Regions from separate parts of the Homo sapiens genome. Here region 2 is linked to region 1. The links are contacts of gene promoters, found by promoter capture Hi-C in human tissues and cell types (Jung and others, 2019). All regions are on one chromosome and are shown on one strand. Each heading gives the region's core, a stretch centred on a gene start or on the middle of the fragment in contact. The rest is flanking DNA. Distances are from core to core; before and after follow the strand shown. Region 1 holds the start of COL8A1 (collagen type VIII alpha 1 chain). Region 2 overlaps LOC105374007 (a long non-coding RNA gene).

Region 1 (6,824 bases), core at 1,771-4,270:
TCTAGGAAGGGCACACTAAGAGTCAGCAAAGAGACGACATTCCTGGATTCCTGACTTGTTGTCCAGATCTGCTACTGAATCAGATTCAGGTAAGTGTGAATGGGAGAAATGAACTAATTATTAGTGCCATCCAAAAAAATGAAAGCAGTGCTTTTGTTATGTTGGCTGGTTTGAAAGGAAGAAAGAATTAAAAATAAGAAGAGAAATTCAGCCTACAGCCATCAATTGTCTTTTCTTCAAATGTGCTTTTCTTGCCTTTCTGGTATTTTTTTTTTTTCATACGTATGTGATGGAACTGGAATGTTTGAGAAGAATTAACTTAGGATAGAAAAGATGATTTGTTGTAATCTGATAAGGGTATTTACTAACATACTTTATCACCCAGCTTCTCCTCTAAAAGTCCCATTTTGTTTCCCCAGAACACATTTCTTTGCTAAATTAAAAAGTTCCAAAAGTGGTATTGTGCTTGTAAAATCACATCTGATTTCAGCGTTATGTCCAAGAATAGATAATGCAGTCCTATTTCTAGGTCTAGTAACAAGTGTTACTCGTTTGACAGACTTCACTCAGTAGATTTGGCCACATCCTCAAAAGACATACTATTTGGGAAGAGGAAAACTGAGTTATGGAGGGTAAGAAGAGAGTAAAACCAAACAGCAAACGGGCAGAAAGTTGATGTGAAAGTTTTAGCTTTCTAAGCATTCATTAAACTAACAAATGCTGACCATTCTCTATTGTCAGTCCTCAATATTGCTGTTTATTCAATTAGCGAGACTATACATATTTATTGAGCACTTATTTTTTACTAGCTAGTAAGCCACTAGTTATAACTTTGTGCAGCCAAAAAATTATTGAATATAATTTGAATAGGGAACATAGAGATAAAAAATTATAAAAAGGCGAATAATCAATAATGCAAAACATCGTGAGTAAATTTGAAAACTCTGGTGTCAAATTTGTGTTTACGATAAAAATTTTAAATTTTTTATTTCATATATGATTGTTCTTGCCTCATATCCCGGGCACATGGGAGTTTATTTCGTTGACTCCCAGACGTAACCAATTGAGAATAAGCTTAGTTACAAAGGAAGTAATTGAGGCTTTGAGCTCTTGAAGCTAACAGATGGAAATACGTATGTAAAAACCTAAGTGCTGTGTAAACTCGGCACATATGGACGTAGGTATTATTATTATCCAAATGGCACTACTGGGTATTTTCTTAATAGATTCTTTTAAAATGCTTTTTTATAGTTGTGGGCCTTTTTTAGACGAATAGTTCTTAAGAAGAGGAGGGGATTTTGTCCCTCAGCGACATTTGGCTAAATCTAGAGACATTTTTTATTTTCACAGCTGGGTGGCGAGTGCGGAGTGGGTACTGCTACTGGCATCTGGTGGGTAGAGGCCACGGACACTGCTTAACATTCTACAGTGCACAGGAGAGGTCCCTACAACAGAGAAATATTCTCCCGAAAGTTTCAGTAGTGCTAAGTTTGAGTAATTCTGCTCTTCACCATCAAGTTTCCTTCTCTTGGAGCCTGCTACCAGCCAATGACATCAGGATCTAACCTGAGACGAACCTAGGTGTTCTATACGGCAGCCTGGTGTACTGAAGAGTGCCTAAGGTTTGCAAGCTCGCTAGCTGTGGCTCCCCCTCTCGCTAGCTTGAGCTAGTTATTTAAACCCTTAGAGATGCCTTTCTTTAAATTAAAAAAAAAATAAATAAATCTGCACAATATGAATCATACCTACCTCATAAGGTTGCGGTGAACACTGAATGAAGTACATATATACATATTCAGTACAAGTTCGTTCCTTTATTATTTCCAGCCTACCCATCCCTCCCCCCTCCCATTCCCGCCTTTTCCCCCTCCCGGTACTGTATCTCCCACCCCAAGTCTCAGGTTCTCTTTTAAAATGCTTTAATTCCTTTGGTGGCAAAAATCAGGCTTGGGCTAGGAAGTGAGTCACCACTCAGCAGCGAAAGGAGCTTGTTTTTCTTTCTCTGAATGCATTTCTTAGTAATTTCAGACTGATCCTTTAGCCACTTGTTGGTTGAATCCTCTCTTAATGTTTAAGACACACTGAGAAAGAACTGTGGCACCAAGACGTTTTCCGATTGTTAGGAATGAGAGTGTTTTAAATACCGAAAATAACCAGAGGGCAGAGAGCTCTGAAATCCTACGTTACATAAGCAGATGCTGGAAGACCCAGGCTGGTTCTGAGGTTCCTGTCTCCACAAGCAAGTCCACGCGAATCCTCCCCGTTGCTGGATTTACTTTAATGCTGCCGAAGTCTCAAAAGGGGCCTCTGGATGCTCAGAGGACAGGCAGCGCAGGAACTTCCTTGTCAAATAAGCCTTGCCTGGAGGGAGAGGGATGGGGCGATTTTCACCCGCGGGCGGTGGGACGGGGCTGAGGGCTGGGGGCTGCCTGGCTCCAGGCCATGTCAGTGCCTCCAGCTCCAGGTCCGGGTCCACCCTGAACTTTGGCTCTGCTGCCCGGACGCCCAGCTTCACCTCCCTTGCCTCGCTTAGAAACCCTTCAGTTCTCCCGGACCGCTATGTAGCTTTTCAAATTCCCAAATTCACAGAAAACACCTTCAAAAGTCACAATCACCCACAACTCCCTCTGCCAAAAAATGTCATGCAAAAACGGAAAATACTCCGATTCCCCTTTCCTCCCAGACACTCTCTCTCTCTCTGTCTCTGCTATTCATTTTCTCCCCCACCTTTCCCCATCTGTGGTCAAGATCCCTTTCACTATTTCTAGTTCCCTCTCTTTTTTCCCTTCTCCCTCTCTCTCCCTTTTCCACTCCTTCCTCCGTTGTGACCGCGCTCCCCCTCCCCCCGCCCCGTCGTCTCTCCTCCGCCTTGCGGGCTCCAGTCTCTGCCCGCCCCTCCCCAGAGAAGAGTGTCCAGCTCCTCCAGAGGCTGCCCGCCCGCCGCTCCTTCCCTGCCCACCTACTATGAGGAGCAGCTCCTCCCACCTGCCCATAAAAGCCAAGTGCATGTTACCAGCAGCGGATCACAGCCCTTCCCCGATCCTCTCCGTGGGAGCCAGCGAGCCTCTCTCCCTGATCTTACGTGCTCAAGGTAAGACAGCACTTCTGCAGGCAGCTCACCTACCAGGGGTTGCTATGGGGGAATAAGTCACCCTCTGGCCAACGCGTTTGCTGTTTGGTTAGAGCTGATTCTTACGGATGCGCGATCCGCTGCTCCTTTAACTAGCAACTGGTTTGAAAACAAACTTCTGTTTGAATGGTAAAATAAAAGCTCCTTCAGGGAAGAAACAGCAGCATAAATATTGCGAAACCTTTCTCTTTTTAAATCACTTTTTCTCCTGTTGCTGACTGTTGCTTAGGTTAAAATGTATCTGTTTGGGGTGTTGTACTGACGTTTTTCACTGTACATATTTCACACATCAGTGGGGGCAAGGAAAACGTTGTCCCATTGTCAAAAATGTACTTTAAAAGAACACAGTTAACTTCCTAAAAATAGCACAGTCAAAAGGTCTGCTAACAATTTTGTGATGTTTTCCAAACCCCCAAGACAGCTTCTGTGAGTCCTTTAAAAAAATATCTTTCCAGGTTTTAGCGCTTGGAAAAAAATGATGTGAACGGGTGCCCTTTGCACGGGGACAGTAAGTAATCAGGTGGCTGGTAGATAGGAAGGAACAAATCCAAATTCACAAGCCAGGGTAGAATGTGCTCTCTCACCAGGCTATCTTTTCACGACATCCTAAAATGAGAATTACGATGGAACTAAGAAAGTGTATAAAAGAACTTCATGAATTTCTGTACACACACCTAAACATAAAGTGTTTCAATATGTTTCACAGTAAGAGAATAATACAGGCCAGATTATACAATACTTCTGTGCACACCAGATGGTTGTAAAGAAAGATCAGCGAGAAAGGCTTTGGAAGTTTTAATCCTTCTTTCCACCTTTTTTCCCCCGCATTTAGTAAATCACAACCTACCTGACTGGCATCCAATTATCAGAGATATTCAGTGTTTAAGCTACCCTCTTTAAAAGAAAATGATCTCTTCTTATTCCTAAGGTAGAATAAATGTGCACCTGTGAAAGGAAAAACATACTCCACAGCCACTTCTGTAAAACCAGACACTTGGTCCATGAAGTTTGCCATCAAATTCTGTGGGTTGTGTGGGATGAAACTCTCTCAAGTGGGAGAAAAACCCTCTTCAAATGTTTCCTCTGGGGAATTGCTCAAGACCACTTAGAGAAGGCAAACCAAAAGTACCAGTCAGGAAACCAAACCACTCTTTTAGCCCTTAAGGTTCTTAAAGTAAGAAGAGAAATGTTTCACTTTTTTATTTTTTTGTTTGTTTATATTATCTCATGTGGAAAGAAAAAACTCACCGAAGCTGTATGAAATTCTCCCCTATTAAAGAAACAAGACTCATTAGAAATTTAACTTAGGTCTTCCAAACCATTTCTCCTTAGCTTTTGCATATCAAAAGTAATAAAAATATTTAAAAGTTCTGCTTGAGATGGAGAGGATTCAATGCTGTTACTCAAATGCAAGAGTTATATATAAAGCTTCTGTCACGTTAAATTTTTCTTCATTGGAAAAAAATATTGCAAGAAGTGCAGTTTCCTTTAAGCAAATTATATAAAATTACTATTGGCCAAGATAGTATGTGACCTGAGCATATTAACATACCTTTTATCTCATGCCACAATGCAGACTGCTTGCTTTATATCTGATGCACATAGGTAATCAACCATGACAAGAGTACAGGTATGGGACAAGGCCAGACCAAGTATGTGGCACATTCAAGTTAATTCTTCTTTTATGGTAGTGCCTGACTCACACCCATTATCACAAGGATGAAAATACGCTGCTTCATTCACCAGATCCCCTTGAGGGAAGTTATCTTTTCTTGGGGTGGAGGGGGAAATGCTCCCAGTTTAAATGAGCTTCCAGTTATTCCTAAGTTTGGGGATAAAAGTATTCTCCAAGGGTTTACTTCTGCTTTCTCTGGCAATTAATCCACCGGACCAGCTATGGACCGTTAAACAGTAACTGCCTTCCCTATGTCCCATCAAGTTCAAGCCCCTAAATAACTGAGTGAGATCATCTTAGATTGCTCATGATCTAAGTTTCCCAGGAGCAAAGCTATCCTTTCTCCATAGGGTACATACCAAGCAAGATGACACTGCTCTTCTTAAGCTTTTAGAAAAATCAGTGTCGAAGTTTCATGTAGTCGCCCCCAAATCTCCCCTTCTGCATGGGATGTGGATACTTCACGTGAGTCTCCTCTTTTTGCCATTATATAGCTGCCTCTTGATCAAGTCCATGACTATACCCAACCAATGCCATTGAGGCAGACTTGGGAGGACTTCTTAATGTTTCTCAGAAAAGATAAGATGAGAAGCTGCCGCTTTCACTAGAGACACAAGAAGGGAGCTCTACTGATTTTGAGGGCTTGCTGATCCTACAGAAATGTGCATTTTAGATGTTCTACTACTGTCAAAATTATAAAATGATATCCTTTTCATGATCAGAAAACATATGCCACTTTATTCCTATTTATGAAATAAAAATCAAGGAGAAGAGGATTGGGGTGAAAAGGGACTTGAAAGAGAAGCTGGAGGAATCACAGAAGTGCCCTAGGAGAAAAGCAAGATTAGGAGCTCTGTTACGAAACGCAACTTCTCCCAACCCTCATTTATGTGAACATGAGGGGATGGGGAAGAGCAAAAATCCATGTCTGCTCTTGTCTTTTTATTTGTTTGTTGTTTTTTAATCAATGAGAGTATAAGATCCATCTCTACTATGCCCTTCTTCTTAGCCCTCCTTCTTTAGCAGAAAAGAACAGCTTGGTTCTAATGATGAAAATGATTTCAGGTTTGCCCCATATTTAAAAACCCACAGTAATTTGCTAGTCATAATTCTAAAAGCTATACTATGAGTTAAAATAAAAAACTCCTTAAAACATGTTTTTAACTAACAGATGGGTCACGTCAACAAAACCAACCCTAAGTCTCCTGAAAAGTGTAATGTTGAGTGCTTATTTGTAAGTTAAAAGTTAGAAACAGCAATTTACTCCTTATCCATGGTTACTCACTTTGGTATGGAAACTTGCAGACAGATTGAGACACACCGTATTTCCTAAAACCTCTGGTCCTCCAAGTAACCCTCTGGGAGCTAGGTGTTTCTGCCTTGACCTCCTTCTCTTCAACCAGACCCCTATAAACATACATGTACATAAGTTAAAGAAGGTACAGATCTTGAAACTTGAGTGTATTCTTGTGAAAGGTGCACTGGTCTAACTATTGAGTGAAAAGAAAACCAAAAGGAGAGGAGAGGAGAATTAAGGGGAGAATGAATGCCCTTTGGAATTTAGAGAATCTTTCTTTTTAGCATTGTGTGAAAAGGATATCTCAATCCCTAAAGCATCTGGGAATACACATTTATTTAAAGAACCTGTTCAAAAGTTGTCACAAAATGCTAAGAATATAATGAAGAAGATCTTCCAGTGACCTGGCAGATATTAACAGCAGGTTACACCCCACACTACTAAATTATAGCTCTATTAAACTTCCCCTTTCTAGAGAGATAAGGAGTGAGAAGTATGAGCATTAACCACATTTCAACACAAACAGAGAAAAGCTGCTAATGAGAGATCCCTCTATCACTTTAGTAACTCCATTTGTTGTTTGAGGGAGAAGGTTCTTCATAGTTTTTCCTCAAGCAGATTTGCAGGAATGGGGTTAAAGGGAGTCACACAAGGTTAGAATGTCTACAAGCCTGAAGTCGTGTGTACTCAAATTCATGAAGCCATTGAAATTGCATCAGATC
Region 2 (6,824 bases), core at 3,210-5,709, 160 kb before region 1:
AATTAGAAAACATTTTGAACTAAAATAAAATAGAAACATGCCAAATCAGAATTGTAGTGCTGCAGTTTCTCTCTAAGTACTACATTACCTGCAGCAATATAATAATATGTTTCCACTGTAATTCTGGTTTTTTCATATATAATATATACTATACGCAAATATATATGACATTACAATTCTTGTTTCATACATACAGCCACTAGTCATTTGTATTTATCCACATAATTACTCTCCTGAAGTTTGAAATTTTCTCCTATATTTTCATGTTGCATCTGGAATCATTTTTCTTTTTTTTCTTTTTCTTTTTATTTATTTATTTTTATTATATTTTAATTTCTGGGGTACATGTGCAGAACGTGCAGGTTTCTTATATAGGTATACACATGCCATGGTGGTTTGCTGCACCCATTAACCCGTCATCTACATTAGGTATTTCTCCTAATGCTATCCCTCCTCTAGTACCCCACCCCCAAATAGGCCCCGGTGTGTGATGTTCCCCTCCCTTTGTCCATGTGTTCTCATTGATCAACTCGCACTTATGAGTGAGAGCATGCAATATTTGGTTTTCTGTTCCTGTGTTAGTTTGCTGAGAATGATAGTTGCCAGCTTCACCCATGTCCCTACAAAGGACATGAACTCATCCTTTTTTATGGCTTCATAGTAGTCCATGGTGTATATGTGCCACATTTTCTTTATCCAGTCTATCATTGATGGGCATTTGGGTTGGTTCCAAGTCTTTGCTATTGTGAATAGTGCAGCAATAAATATACAGGTGTGTGTCTTTATAGTAGAATGATTTATAATCCTTTGGGTATATACACAGTAATGGGATTGCTGGGTCAAATGGTATTTCTGGTTCTAGATCCTTGAGGAATAGCCACACTGTCTTCCACAATGGTTGAACTAATTTAAACTCCCACCAACAGTGTAAAAGCATTACTATTTCTTGACATCCTCTCCAGCATCTGTTGTTTCCTGACTTTTTAATGATTGCCATTCTAACTGGTGTGAGATGGTATCTCATTGTGGTTTTGATTTGCATTTTTCTAACTACCAGTGACGATGAGCATTTTTTCACATTTTTGTTGACCACATACATGTCTTCTTTTGAGAAGTGTCTGTTCATATCCTTCACTCACTTTTTGATGGTTTTTTTTTCTTGTAAATTTATTTAAGTTCCTTGTAGATTCTGGATATTAGCCTTTTGTCCGATGGATAGATTGCAAAAATTTTCTCCCATTTTGTAGGTTGTCTGGAATCATTTTTCAGCTTGAGAGTAGTTCATTTAATTTTACAAAGGTGGGCCTACTAGTGACAAATTCTTTATTTTTTATTTGACTAAAACTATCTTTATCTTCATTTTTTGAAGGATATAAAAATATTGTGTGTGAAATTATAGGTTGGCAGTTATTTTAACATTTTTAAGATGTCATTTTATTGTTTTCTAGTTTCCATCATTTTGGTTAAGAAGTTAGATTTCAGTCTTAGTGTTTCTCTTTTTAAGTCAACAACTGTAAGCTTTTCTCTTTATATTTGGTTTTCAGAAGATTCTTTGATATACTGTGGTGTAGTTTGCTTTGTTTATCTTCAAATTGTGGTTCTCAAAGCTTTTTGAATCTCTCAGTTGTTATCTTTCATCAGTTTGGAAAATATAAATAGTGATTCCACCCATTTTCTCTTTTTACTTCTGTGATACCTATTATATGTATGTTAGACCTTTGGATCATCCTATACATCTCTATTCATTTTTTCTTTTAATTTTTTCCTAATCTTAATTTTATGTGTTTTTATTGACTTATATTTTAATTCACTTGTCCTGTATACTTCTGTTTCTAATCTACTGTTAAATCCATCTATTGAGTTCTTAATTGCGGAGATTGTATTTTTCAATTGTATATTATCTATTTCTTTTTATTTAACAGAATATAATTCTCTGGAGAAAATCTCCATACTTTCACCTATTCTTTTTATCTTTTTTCTAATTTATTTAATATATTAATTATTGTTATTACAAAGGCTTTGACTGGTAACTCTGATATCTGGATCATTTATTAGTCTGCTACTATTTCTATCTTTTTCTTCTTCATTACTAATAAAAATTTTCCTGTCTTTTGGCATGTATAGTAATATTTTATTGTATGTCAGACATTAAGCATAAAAGAAATAAAGAGATTCCAAATAATGTGATGTTTCACCAGACAGTGTTTCCCCTTTCTTCTGTTATGTCACTCAGTTAAGCAGCTGACCATTTTGCAGAGTCAGGAATTGATATAGGTTAGAGCTGGACTATAGATTGTATAAGTCCCAGTATACATCTGTTTCAGTCATCTTCTTGAAAATGACCATCTCAAGCTTTTAATTAAGAGCCTAATTGGTTTCTTTCTCTGCAGTTCTGAAAGACTTCAGAATTTCCAGCTCTATCGTTCATAAGTTTCCAGCCCAGTTCTTTAGCCTGTCAATTCAGGCATCTTAATAGTCTAGCACATGTCTTATTTAGAGACTAATTGAGTGCCTAAGGTACTCCTCCAGTATGTCTTTTTGAAGCTTTTAGATGACTTTCTCAACCTCCAGTGTGGCTGCAGATGTCCATAATTTTGCCAAGGTCATATGGGGTAAATTAGCATTTGAAGAAGCCCCTAAAATTTCCAGTTTCCCTCACCGGCCTCCTACAATGGCTAAAACAAACAAACCAACAAAAACTTTGCTGGTTTCTCTTTCTCCCTGGAAGTGGCTCAATGCCTAAACCAAGCCCAATCTGTAGGCTGTGCCTTTAATTAATTACATTTTCCAAAGGACAAAATATCCAGGATTCAGCAAATATCCACAGGAAACATTTCTCCTCACCTTGGAAGTGTTATCACCCATCTTAGAGCCTTCATCTGTTTTCCCCATGGCTGGCAGGGAGGAGGGGAGCACAAGGAACACCATTAGTGAACTGACTAGCTAAGTATTTTTCCAATCTATTATGTAAACCAGAATTCCAGCCCTTAGAATTTTAAGTGCTAAGAATTAACCATTTTGCACTTTAGCTGTGGCCAAGAGACCAACATTTAATATGAACACGGTAAGGGTGAAGTAAACAAAAGCCTTACAGAGATAAGAAAAAGTCAGGTTAAGCTTATGTCATCATCGTACAGCATTTTGATCTGCTTCGGCCTATATTCAACTAAACTTTACTTTCAAGTGTTCTTTCTCTACTCACTAAATCAGATTTTGCTTTTTATATACCATTCCATAGAACCAGGTATAATGTCCTAGTGATGTCAGAATCCAAGGACAATCATTTGATGTTTTGCTCAGAAAATATTACCCATCTTATTGGTCTTATCCATTTTTAATTTAAAAATAGAGTGCATGTTACTATCGTAGTCATACAGATAATCAAGATATTTGGTTGCATACTCAAATAAAATATCCCAGTAGTATAGTTTATATTCAATTTAAATTTACTATAAGCATTTTCTAATCTATGAGTCTGATATAAATGTGTAAATGTTACACTTACAGAAAAGAGAGCATGTATTACTGAGTTTTCTTTTAAGGCATCCAGCTACAATGACCAAAATGTTTCCAGCTTGCAAGTGTATCTGAATCATGGTCATTAGTTTATGCTTACTTTTTTCCAAAGGTCTTTATTGTCACAACATGCAACAAAGTTGAACTCACTGTGAAAAATTAAGACCATAGAACTATTACTTTTGGTTATTCGACTATCAAAAATTAGCTTGTTAAGCACTTAGGGTTGTTGGCACCACTGAGATGGCATGGGAAAGAGAAAGAAATTGCATGCCAGCTTTATTTGTTTGAAAGCTTTTAGCACTGAGTTACACAATGGAAAAATCTCAAGAACATTCCCTGTGTCTGTGTTTGTAATGATTACACTAAAGTCAAGCACAACTCCAATAAACGAATCACACTCAAATGCTTTGGAGTTAAAATACTGGGTATGTAGATTAGGTTCCCTAAAAGAGACCAATGTTTTTTATGAAATTACTCCAAAGGAGATCAGGACAGGATATTTCCTGCTTTATGAAGGTAATATTGCTAATGTTGTTGAGACAAAGTAAAAGGTTATTTTAGATATCAACACATAGATTAATATAGTAATTCACAAATTTATAAACTTGAAAGTAAACAGTATTTTTCCCACTTGTGGGTAATGTGTGCATTTTTACTAAGTAACAATGTTAGTATTCTTTCTAAAATCTGCCTATTTAAAGTCCACTTAGAACACCCCATAAACTCCTTGGCTATTGCCCATAAAGACCACCATGGTCAGACTCTTGCCTATCTGTGTAATCTCATCTTGTCACAAATATCCTCTGTATGAGCTACTTTTAATCAGGTGAGGTTCAAGATGCATGAGGCTATTTCTCATCGTTGTGCTTTAGCACAAGCTGTTTTCTCTACACAGAAGTTCTTACCCTACCTTTCACACATAGTAAACTCAACTCAAATGCCACCTTTTCTGTGAATCCCTTCCTGACCTCCCTAAACACAGTTACTTTCTTTTTCTTGGTCCTGTAACATCCTATTTATACATATATTACAGCCTCTACCTCATTACCATCTCTAGCTTCTGCATCCTTCTAGGGCAGGGAAATACACTAAGCACATTGATATCCCTAAGAGCAGCACTCCACGTGACACGAAGCAGCTCTATGGTTAATAAATGTACAAAGAACTAAGAGAGGAAGGGAGAGAAAGGAGGAAGGAAAGAAAGGAAGACTTAAAGCTTTTAAAACGACCAAAAATATTTCCAAACCTAAATTTACAGTTGCTAAGCTCACAATAATATTTACTGAATGAGAAAAGAGCTCCTGAATACTGAAAATGTGTGATATAATAAAGGGAGGTGGTTGCACATAATGTATAGGCTTCTAATGTTATAACATCAGGCATAAAGATATAACAATTTACATTTTAGTCTCTCTGTTTTATCTTTTGCCTTCCTTCAGGGAGACTTCATTTTCTGTGTTCAGGAAGTTTGTTTTCTGTTCTGTTATTTTATCACTCACTGAGTTTCTTAGGGTCTTTTTCTCTGTTTGATGATGGCAGTTGATATGGGTTCTGGGTGCTATGGTACGAAATAATTCTGTAAAGTATCATAAAATATCATTTTATTAGTATTACATTTTGTACTTTTAAAATTAGAGTTGCTGACTTACATAAAAATGAAATGGAGGCCAGGTGTGGTGGCTCACTCCTATAATCTCAATACTTTTGGAGGCTGAGGCAGGTGGATCACGAGGTCAGGAAACCAAGACCACCCTGGCTAACACGGTGAAACCCCGTCTCCACTAAAAATACAAAAAAATAGCTGAATGAGATGGTACGCGCCTGTAGTCTCAGCTACTCGGGAGGCTAAGGCAGGAGAATTGCTTGAACCTGGGAGGCAGAGGTTGCAGTGAGCCAAGATTGAGCCACTGCACTCCAGCCTGGGTGACGGAGCGAGACTCTGTCTCAAAAAAAGAAAGAAATGGATTGGTACCATGCCAAATAGTAATTCTATTTTCTGAGACAGAATCAGGGATTCATTAAAATCTGTGCACAGCTCAGACAAGCCCAGGGTTCAGAATAATGTATTCTTCCTTTCTGTGATGGTTACATAGTGATTATGAGTCACAAGGTATTTTGCATGTAATATCCATTTGATTTTTTATCTTTCATATGGGGACACTAAGGCTCCTAGAGGACAAACAATGGACACATAATCAGTCATGCAGTAAACTGCAAAGTTAGAGGCTAAAGCTGGTCTTCTGACTTCAACCCCTGTCTTATTTTTTACTATACTAGGGTGCCTTCTTGTACTTAACTCATTCCCTGGCCCCTTCTATGCATGATCCCATAGATGATACTCTATAGCCAATGGCTTAGATATGGTGGCATACTCCTAGCTAACTACTCACCTGCTCCTTTAAGCTTTGCTGCTACACTGAAGCTAATTTCCATGTCTATGGAGAGGACAATTTACCAGAAGTATGGGTGTAAGACTAGCTGCCTCTAGCTGTCTTTGTAAGACATAGGGACTTGACAGATAAACTCTTAATTAAATACACGTAAGAATTTAGTGGGGTTCACATGAATTAAAGTTCAGTCTGGTAGTCATTAACATTGTTCACCAAAGTACTTAGTTTTCTTTCTTAGAAATTGACAGGGCTACACTTCCCTGCTCCTTGAAGTTAGGTGTAACCATATAAATATCTTTGGCCAATGATATGTGAGCAGAAGTGATGTGTGTCACTTCTGAGAGGAAGCTTTATGAATCACTATGTCATCTGCTTTCTTCCTTTCTGCTCTGCATCATTTCCTCCCACCCTGACTTTCTTTCTTTTTTTTTTTTTTTTTTTTTTTTTGACTTGACATTATGGCAGTGTGGACATTTAGTTTCTCCTATCAGGGTTCTTGACAAAAGACAATGTAGAACACATCCTTCTTTCCCACCCTCCCACCCCCACAAGCCAACCCACCATGGACATGAGGTACTAGCAAATGTTTTAAACCTTTACAATTTTAGTTGTTGCTTTTTTCTAACCAAGCATTACTTAGACTATCTTAACTGGTACACTTACCTTAATATATTATTTCAATCCAGTAGTAGTGCCCAATGGAATAGGTCAATGGAAACGTTTTTGAATCTATAAAATGTTAGTGCAGACTGCTCTTAATTAAGAATTCTCTTTAAGAATATTGATGGAGTTTAGGACACACTACCCCAAAATGTGGCACCATGGCATTTTGAGAAAACAGCTGAAGCTGGAATGTCTCTCTCACATACTCCTACCCTTTTCCCCTAAAGAAGGACATAAAAGAGTTCTTCAACC

The links. The method cuts DNA at HindIII sites, captures the fragments that hold promoters and counts their contacts. A contact is called where the count stands out against the background at its distance.
Region 2: a contact is called between a fragment that was not itself captured here and the fragment with the promoter of COL8A1 in region 1, in 1 of the 25 tissues and cell types used here (aorta).

What each region holds. Positions count from the first base shown.
Region 1 is chr3:99,635,574-99,642,397 of GRCh38, forward strand. COL8A1 (collagen type VIII alpha 1 chain) reads left to right here and starts at 3,021. Exons shown (of 4, transcript NM_020351.4): 1 at 3,021-3,091. It overlaps LOC124909401 (a long non-coding RNA gene), which reads right to left and starts at 3,107. Exons shown (of 2, transcript XR_007095981.1): 1 at 3,014-3,107; 2 at 1,795-2,361. The HindIII fragment of the contact is 6,546 bases long and covers 1-4,875 here.
Region 2 is chr3:99,476,144-99,482,967 of GRCh38, forward strand. All of the region lies in intron 1 of LOC105374007 (a long non-coding RNA gene), which reads right to left. Among named protein-coding and RNA genes, the nearest start is that of COL8A1, 160 kb to the right of the region's middle. The HindIII fragment of the contact is 3,259 bases long and covers 2,831-6,089 here.